Linked DNA regions of Homo sapiens: region 2 is linked to region 1. Evidence: promoter capture Hi-C in 16 types of primary human blood cells and fetal thymus (Javierre and others, 2016). All regions are on one chromosome and are shown on one strand. Each heading gives the region's core, a stretch centred on a gene start or on the middle of the fragment in contact. The rest is flanking DNA. Distances are from core to core; before and after follow the strand shown. Region 1 holds the start of FRGCA (FOXM1-regulated, gastric cancer associated). Region 2 has its middle 40 kb from the start of LINC00313.

Region 1 (3,827 bases), core at 747-3,246:
CATCTTTAAAGGCACCGTCTTTCCACTTTGGAAATGGAAGTGTCCCACTTGCTGTGCTGACGGACACTAGAGGGCGGAGTTCCCCATCTTTCAGGCAATGTGAAGGCTCAGTCCACTTCTCCACTTCTGCAACTACAGAGGTGATTATTTGGGACCACTGGATTGGGGGGAGAAAGTCAGTGTCTCCCAAGGGGTACGGCACAGGACAGAGAACCAGTATTGGAGCTCAGACAGGCTCGGGGGACTGGGAGATGGAAGCCATCGCCTTTACCTTGGGCATTTCATCTTAGGTCCCATGGAAACAGGGGCCATGGGTTGGTACTTATCATTTCTTTTAAACAGATAATGGCATACAGTAAGTCCTCAATTTCATCACAGCTTCCTGGAAACTGTGACTTTAAGCAAGACAACATATAATGAAACCAATTTTACCATAGGCTAGTTGATATAAACAAGAGTTAAATTCCTATGTCATAGGCTGGGTGCGGTGGCTCACACCAGTAATCCCAGCACTTTGGAAGGCCAAAGCGGGCAGATCACCTGAGGTTGGGAGTTCAAGACCAGCCTGACCAACATGGAGAAATACTAAAAATACAAAAGTAGCTGGGTGTGGTGGTGCATGCCTGTAATCCCAGCTACTCGGGAGGCTGAGGCAGGAGAATCGCTTGAACCTGGGAGGTGGAGGTTGCAGTGAGCCGAGATCACGCCACCGCACTCCAGCCTGGGCAATAAGTGTGAAACTCTGTCTCAAAAAAAAAAAAGAGGCATATTTCTGCTCTCAAAACATCACCAGAACAGGTGTGGTGGCTCACACCTGTAATCCCAGCACTTCGGGAGGCTGAGGTGGCAGATCTCTTGAGGCAAGGAGTTCAAAACCAGCCTGGGCGACATGATGAAACCCCATCTCTACAAAAAATGCCCCCCAAATTAGCCAGGAAAGGTGGTGTGTGCCTGTGGTCCCAGCTACTTAGGAGGCTGAGGTGGGAGGATTGCTTGAGCCTCAGAGGCTAAGGTTGCGGTGAGCTGTGATCACACCACCACACTCCAGCCTGGGCGACGGAACAAAACCCTATTTCCAAAAAAACCCCACAAAAAAACAAAAAACACCACCAAATTTCTAAAGACCCAAACACTTCTAATATTAAACATTGAAATAAATGTAAACTATCCCTACATGTAGAGGTAGCTACACCTACATAAGGAAGATTAATACAAACAAGTGAGATCATGATCTACCCAATATTTGGGATGTCTGTGAGTGACGGCGGTGGTAGTGGTGGTGGTGAAATCACGGAATCAATGTCTGCAAAGCACACGCTCTTGGGAGCACCTCCTCCCACCGCACAGCTGAAAGACAAGCGACCGTGAGTATGGCGGCTCCTTGAGCACCCTCACACGCGGCGTTTGTTGTCATGCGTTTGTGTGATTACCGTAGGCTTTATAATTTTTATTTGATAATTTATATTCATGTATTCATTCATTTTCCAACTTGCTTTCTCCAGTTCAGAGTGGCAGGTGACCAGGGCCCATCCTGGAGGCTCAGTGCCAAGGTGGGCACCCGCCCTGGATAGGACAGGCCTCCATGGGACACCCACACTCACTCGGACTAGGCCCATGTAGACATGCCGTGAGGCTGAGGTGTATACTTGGGATGTGGGAGGAAACTGGAGGACCTGGAGAAAACCCGCGCGGACCTGGGGAGACCTCCTCAATGCTCCCTAGAATGAAACGATGGGATTTGAGGACCTGCTGTATTTATTTGTCCCAATCCAGCGGCCCTGGCCTTCAGTGCACAGTAGTCCCTGCTGCTGGGCACACATCCCCTCATGCTCAGTCCATTGACCAGGACTGGGCACATGGCCTCACCTAGCTGCGGGCAGTGGCTTCTGCCCTGGGGCAGGCAGCTGCTCCAGGTCTGGAGATGAGCCCCACCTCCAGGTGCAGCTGCTCCAGGTGTGGAAACGGGGCTCTACCTCGTGGGGAGCGTCCGCTGCGGGCCACAACCTTGCTGGGAGGCTGCGGGAGATGGGGGGTAAGAGGGGTGATGTTGAGGCTTTCCCTCCTCGGCAGTGACCGGCGCAGCCCTCCCCAGTGTAGCTCCCCCCTCCCCACCCCTCCCTCCATCTGGAACACAGCACGGGGGCTGCCCTCCAGCCCTCAGTGTGCAGGGCTTGCACACCTTGGCTTGCAGGGCATTTGGGGGATCCCAGTGGGGCAACTGCCAGCTGGAGAGATGCTGGTGCCCAGCCGTGCTGCTCCTGGGGGCAGGCTGGGTAGGGGCTGAGGGGCCGGAGTGAGCGGTCCACAGTCATCCAGGAACAACAGGGCTCTCACCTGGCAGGGCTCCCAGGCACGTTGATGGAGGGAGGGTTTCCTCAGTCCTCTCCCCCAGCCCTTACTGGGCAGTACCCCCACCCACCATACTGTCTCTTGCCTGGGTCTCAGGTGGTTGGCGCTGTCTGGCCCCTGCCTCTCCCTCTGTCCCTTCAGCTGAAGCGGGCTCCACGCCATCCCAGGACTTCCCGCGCGGTCTGAAGCACAGCCACATCCGGTCTGACCGTCCCTCACCCCTCCCTCACCCCTCCCTCGCCCCCCCTCGCCCCTCCCTCGCCCCTCCCTCGCCCCCCCTCGCCACCCCAGGAGGAAATAGAGGCTGAGTGTCCGTGCCCTGCAGCCGAGCAGCCACCCTTGCCTTTGGCCCCACCTTCGCCTGCCTGGCGGCCGTCCTGTCACCTGTCATTCAGCCCTTGCTGTCTGCTGGGCACGTGCCCTGCAGGTGGGGTGCACGGCAGGCCCATGAGTGCCCACCATGCCTCGCCATTCAGGAAGCCACCCAGGTGCTCCGGGCGGTGTCAGGGCAGGGTGCGTCTGTGCGGCGTTTGCATGTGTCCACCGTCCTGACCGGGGGCAGGGCCACGTCCCACACATCTTTCTGCCTAACTTATGATGTGGCAAAGACACATCCCGATACCTCTCCCGGGTGGGCCTGTGAGCTGGGCTCTGTGACGCCAAGGCCCAGGACCTGCTCAGCCCTGGGAAGATGGAACTGGAGGGGACCTTGAGATGGCTGGCCCAGCCCCTTGTCTTATAGACAGGGAGACAGCAGAAAGGGAGATGGAGTCACCGGCCAGGACCCCAGCTATGAGTGGGAGCTGGACCAGGAGTTGAGTGTCCTGAGCCACCTCCTCCCTGTGCTGGGTCCACTCTCAGAAACACTCCAGGTCTGGAGGCAGACCTGGAGGCAGGGCAGGGCAGGGCAGGGAGGGCAGAATGGCTATGATGTGGTGAGGCTGTGTCCCCACCCAAATCTCACCTCGAATTGTAATCCCCAGGTGTTGAAGGAGGGAGGCGATTGGATCATGAGGCGGTTTCCTCCATGCTGTTCTCATGATAGCTAGTGAGTTCTCATGGGATCTGATGGTTTTATAAGGGGCTCTTCCCCCTTCGCTTGCTCTTGCTCTCTCTCTCCTGCCACCATGTGAAGAAGGTGCCTGCTTCCCCTTCAGCCATGACTGTAAGTTTCCTGAGGCCTCCCCAGCCATGCAGAACTCTGAGTCAATGAAAACTCTTTCCTTTAGAAATCACCCAGTCTCAAGTAAGTTTTTTTTTTTTTTTTTCAGACAGAGTCTTGCTCTGTCACCCAGGCTGGAGTGCAGTGGCACCATCTCGGCTCACTGCAACCTGCGCCTCCTGGGTTCAAGCGATTCTCGTGCCTCAGTCTCCCGAGTAGCTGGGATTACAGGTGCCTGCCACCACTGCCAGCTAATTTTTGTATTTTTGGTAGAGATGGGGTTTCACCATGTTGGCCATGATGGTCTCGAACTCCT
Region 2 (4,002 bases), core at 436-2,935, 380 kb after region 1:
ACGAATTTTAACAAGATCCCAAGCTAAATGCAATCAGGGAGAAATGAAAACTTGGGCAAAACACATCACATGTTCCAAGGTCAAAGGTGAAAGCTGTTTGTGACTGTTGCACACCACTTCAGCTCTCTGTCACAGCCCTGCCTCTCCCCAGTATACCACTCTGATAGTTGAGTGATGTTTTAAGTATGAAAAACTGTCACACCTGGAAGGTGGGGGGGCCCTGGAAACCTGAGCTGCTGGGAAAACGTGCTCCCCTCCTCCATGAGGAGGACACAAGCCCACACCCCTAAGCCACTGTATGGGGCTGCTCTGATGGGGCTTCAGGATGTGCCCCAGCCTGGAAGGAGCTTGCTGATTCTTGCCTCTGAATGGCCATGTCCTGAGCTGGAGCACCTGAAGACAGCTATGGTGCCCAGAGGCCTGGGAGCTGTCGGGTAGCCTGGCCCCACTGCAGGTGGCAGATCTGGGAGCCACAAGAAATGCTCTGCTATTTCATACTATGCATTCTTCAGAGGCTGGTGCAATAGAGTTTAATCAACTTCCTCTGGAAGAGACTATATTCATGCAGACTTGTAAGAAAGAGAAATAACTTGAACTTTGGTTTGTTTGCTGTTCTTGGTGTGCACATTCATAAATCCCTAAAAACCCCGAAGCACAAGCACTGCCCCTGCCGTTCCTGCTCTCTGCTTGGTGGTCAGGCCACTCCATGCAGCAGACCAGCTCAGGCCTATGTGGCCTGGAACCATCTCTTCTACATGAGACAAGGCCGGGACCTCTGCCCCCACCCACAAGCACATGGAGAGGGAGAGGGAGCCCCCTGCCTGAGCAGCAGAGACCCCAGGAAGGAGGCCAAGCCCTCCTCACACAGGAGGTCTCCAGCTGCCCTCTGAGGTGAGGGGTGCCTCTCCCAAACAGCACAAAGTACAGCCCAGACCAGAATGTTTTGGAAGGACTCAGAAACAAGAAAGTGTGTGCTGAGTAAGGGCCGGGGCTGCAAAATACAGGGAAGAGAAGCCACCTTGCAGCCTGGACTGCGGGTTGTGCAAGCCCTGCCGGCTGCAGCCTGCCCTCCCAGGCTGGGGATTAACATGGGAGCAGACGGCTTGGCTCAGAACCAAGTGTGACTAATTGAGAGGACAAACAGGAAGGCTTTTCACCTGCCCAGACCTCATTCAGGGTTTCCTACGAGACGATAGCATCAGGAGCCCTGGCGAGTACAGGCAGTTTTGTTCCTTGCTCTGAGTCTCTTGTGCTGATGACGTCAAAGGGGCCTAAGACAGTGCCCCCAAACCTGGACAGAGTGTGGAGGAGAAAGAAAGCTGGTGAGCAAGCATTTTGGCCTTGAAGACCAGATCGCTCATCCCAAAGCTTGGGTCCCTGGCCTGGGAACTGGGTTTACTGATTCCCCTTGTGATTCTAGCTCCTTTAACCTTAAGACGGAGCCTTTCTTCTGGCAATTACCCAGGAATGGGACTTTCTTCCAGCACAGCAGAGAAAACAGGATTAAGCAAGGGGCTCTGGATCCTAAGACAGCCTCTGGAGCTGGCAGGAGAGTCTGGTGGCTTCTGCACTGGGCCAGACTTCCACCCAGGTTTCCAGTGACAAGGTTTTAAGGGAGAAATGCAAATCTGATGAACATTTAACTCCATGAAGCAGATAGCTTCAGGTTTGTCCTGCAGGATTCAGAGGTCTATGACCCCTGACACATCTACACTTGACCTGTAGCCAAAAATAGTTAAAAAGATTATAGAGCCCTAGAAACCTGGCCCTGTCTTCAGTGCCCACAGGGTAAAACGTATCTTCTGGGCTCATGGGAGAGGTGCAGTCACAGTGCCCTCCTGCCCCCTCATACACGGGGGTGCAGAGCCAGAAGCAAATGGGAGACAAACATTCCCCTAAACCCTAGTTCCAGCCCACACAGCCAAAAGCCAACTCCCCCTTAGAAAACCTTAGTATGCGTGTCAGCCAAATTCCTTAGGGTTGAGGCAGAGGTGTAGCGAGGGAAGCTTGCCGGACTAGAGTCAAGACACAGGTATGTTTAGCATGGGAAGGAAGGTATGACAGTCCCCACACACAGAGACGCAGACAGAGAGAGAGATGCACACAGAGACACACAAAAACATACAGACAAGATACAGAAACAACACTCACAGGCACAGTCACACAGACATACATGCACACATACATGCAGACTCATACAGATAGGCACACACAGAGGCACAGTCACACACAAAGACACACACACACACACACACACACACACACACACACACAGAGACAGACACAGATCTGTGGTCATCTCCACTGAATTGCCAGGGACATCACTGAAACAACTTGAACTCTGTCCACACCTGATTCAGGCAATAAGTGTCTGTGGGTCAGGGCAGGGGTTATGGGTGGATCCCACCGTGGTGTGACTGTGGGGAGAGTCCAGGGCAGCTCAGCAGCCTCCAGGGAAGGACACAGCCCAGGAGAAGTGCTAGGGGAGTCTGGGGCCCTGGTGGGTGGCTTGGACAGGTAGTGGGAGCAGCACCCAAGGAATACGGAGGCCCAACCAGTTGAGTGGCAGAGGCTCTAGCCAGCCTGGGCATGGGTGCCTTTTCCACCCAGGGTAAACTGCAGCCACAGGGGCAGGGGTCCCCGAGGAGAAGGCGGCACAAGGAAGGGCTCTCAAGGCACCTTCTTGAAGACCAGGAAGACTTTGTGAAAGGAAAATAAATCTCGGGACCCCAAAATCACTAAGCCAAAGGGCAAAGTCAAGCTGGTGTAAACCAAAAATAAAATTCTAAGTCCCCCGACAAGAACGGACCCTTCCTCTCAGCAAGGGCATTCCAAAGCTAACCTGAAAAACAAGTTCAGGCCATGATGGGAAGGGAAGTCAGGCATGACTCATTATACCCTCTTCCCTTTTGGAATTACTGATAGAATAGGGTCTTTAAGTCTGATAAGAAACATTTACAATCTATTGTCTCCGAAGCCTGCTACCTGGAGGCTTCACCTATGGTCTCCACAAACCCTTATCTTAACCCAGACATTCCTAAGTCTTTAGACAATAACTTAACTCTTTCAACCAACTGTCAATCAGAATATCTTTGAATCTACCTATGAGTTGGAAGCCCCCACCTTCCAGTTGTCCCGCTTTTCCAGACCGAACCAAAGTACATTTACATGCATTTGATTGATGTCTCATGTCTCCCTAAAATGTACAAGCTGTACTCCATCCACCTTGGATACATGATCTCAGAACCTCCTGGGGTTGTGTCATGGGCCACTGGTCACTCATATTTGGCTCAGAATAAATCTATTCAAATATTTTAGAGAGTTTGACTCTTTTTGTTGACACTGGGAACTGCGTCAGGCCTCCCATTTTATTCCTAAATAAGATAGCTACAAAGATTAAAAAAAAGCTACATACCTCCTTCACAATTTGCCTCAAGATCTATACCCTAAAACAGTTCTGTTGATTTTCACCCTGGCAATGTAAATTGGTAAGTTATCTTCACAGGTATGGGACAAAGGACAGAACTCAAAGTCATCCCTCTGGTCACCTGAGACAAATGCATATCTGATGGCTTCCTCTGCCCTATTGTTTATGTATAAAAATGAAGATTTGGCCGGGCACAGTGGTTCACGCCTATAATCCCGGCACTTTGGGAGGCTGAGGCGGGTGGATCACCTGAGGTCAGGAGTTCGAGACCAGCTTGGCTAACATGGTGAAACCCTGTGTCTACTAAAAATATTTTAAAAATTAGACAGGCGTGGTGGCACGTGCCTGTAATCCCAGCTACTCGGGAGGCTGAGGCAGGAGAATCACTTGAACCCAGGAGGCAGAAGTTGCAGTGAGCCAAGATTGCGCCACTGCACTCCAGCCTGGGCGACAAGAGTGTGAAACTCCATCTCGAAAAAAAAAAAAGTGCAGATTCACTGAGCCAGGCTTAGGCATAAGTGACTATTCCTCTCTACCTGCCTCTCACATGTAAATTGTATATTCAGTGAAAGGCT

What was found. Contacts are between HindIII fragments. The CHiCAGO score rates a contact against its expected background, and 5 or more counts as called.
Region 2: a contact is called between a fragment that was not itself captured here and the fragment with the promoter of FRGCA in region 1, in 6 of 17 cell types (naive B cells, total CD4 T cells, total CD8 T cells and 3 more). The highest score is 6.8, in naive B cells.

What each region holds. Positions count from the first base shown.
Region 1 is chr21:43,139,096-43,142,922 of GRCh38, forward strand. FRGCA (FOXM1-regulated, gastric cancer associated) reads right to left here and starts at 1,997. Exons shown (of 2, transcript NR_133677.1): 1 at 1,867-1,997; 2 at 1,428-1,718. All of the region lies in intron 4 of LOC101928369 (a long non-coding RNA gene), which reads left to right. RefSeq lists enhancers at 2,390-2,927, 2,928-3,463. The HindIII fragment of the contact is 22,159 bases long and covers 1-3,827 here.
Region 2 is chr21:43,515,912-43,519,913 of GRCh38, forward strand. It overlaps a transcript of HSF2BP not described here. Among named protein-coding and RNA genes, the nearest start is that of LINC00313, 40 kb to the left of the region's middle. The HindIII fragment of the contact is 638 bases long and covers 1,367-2,004 here.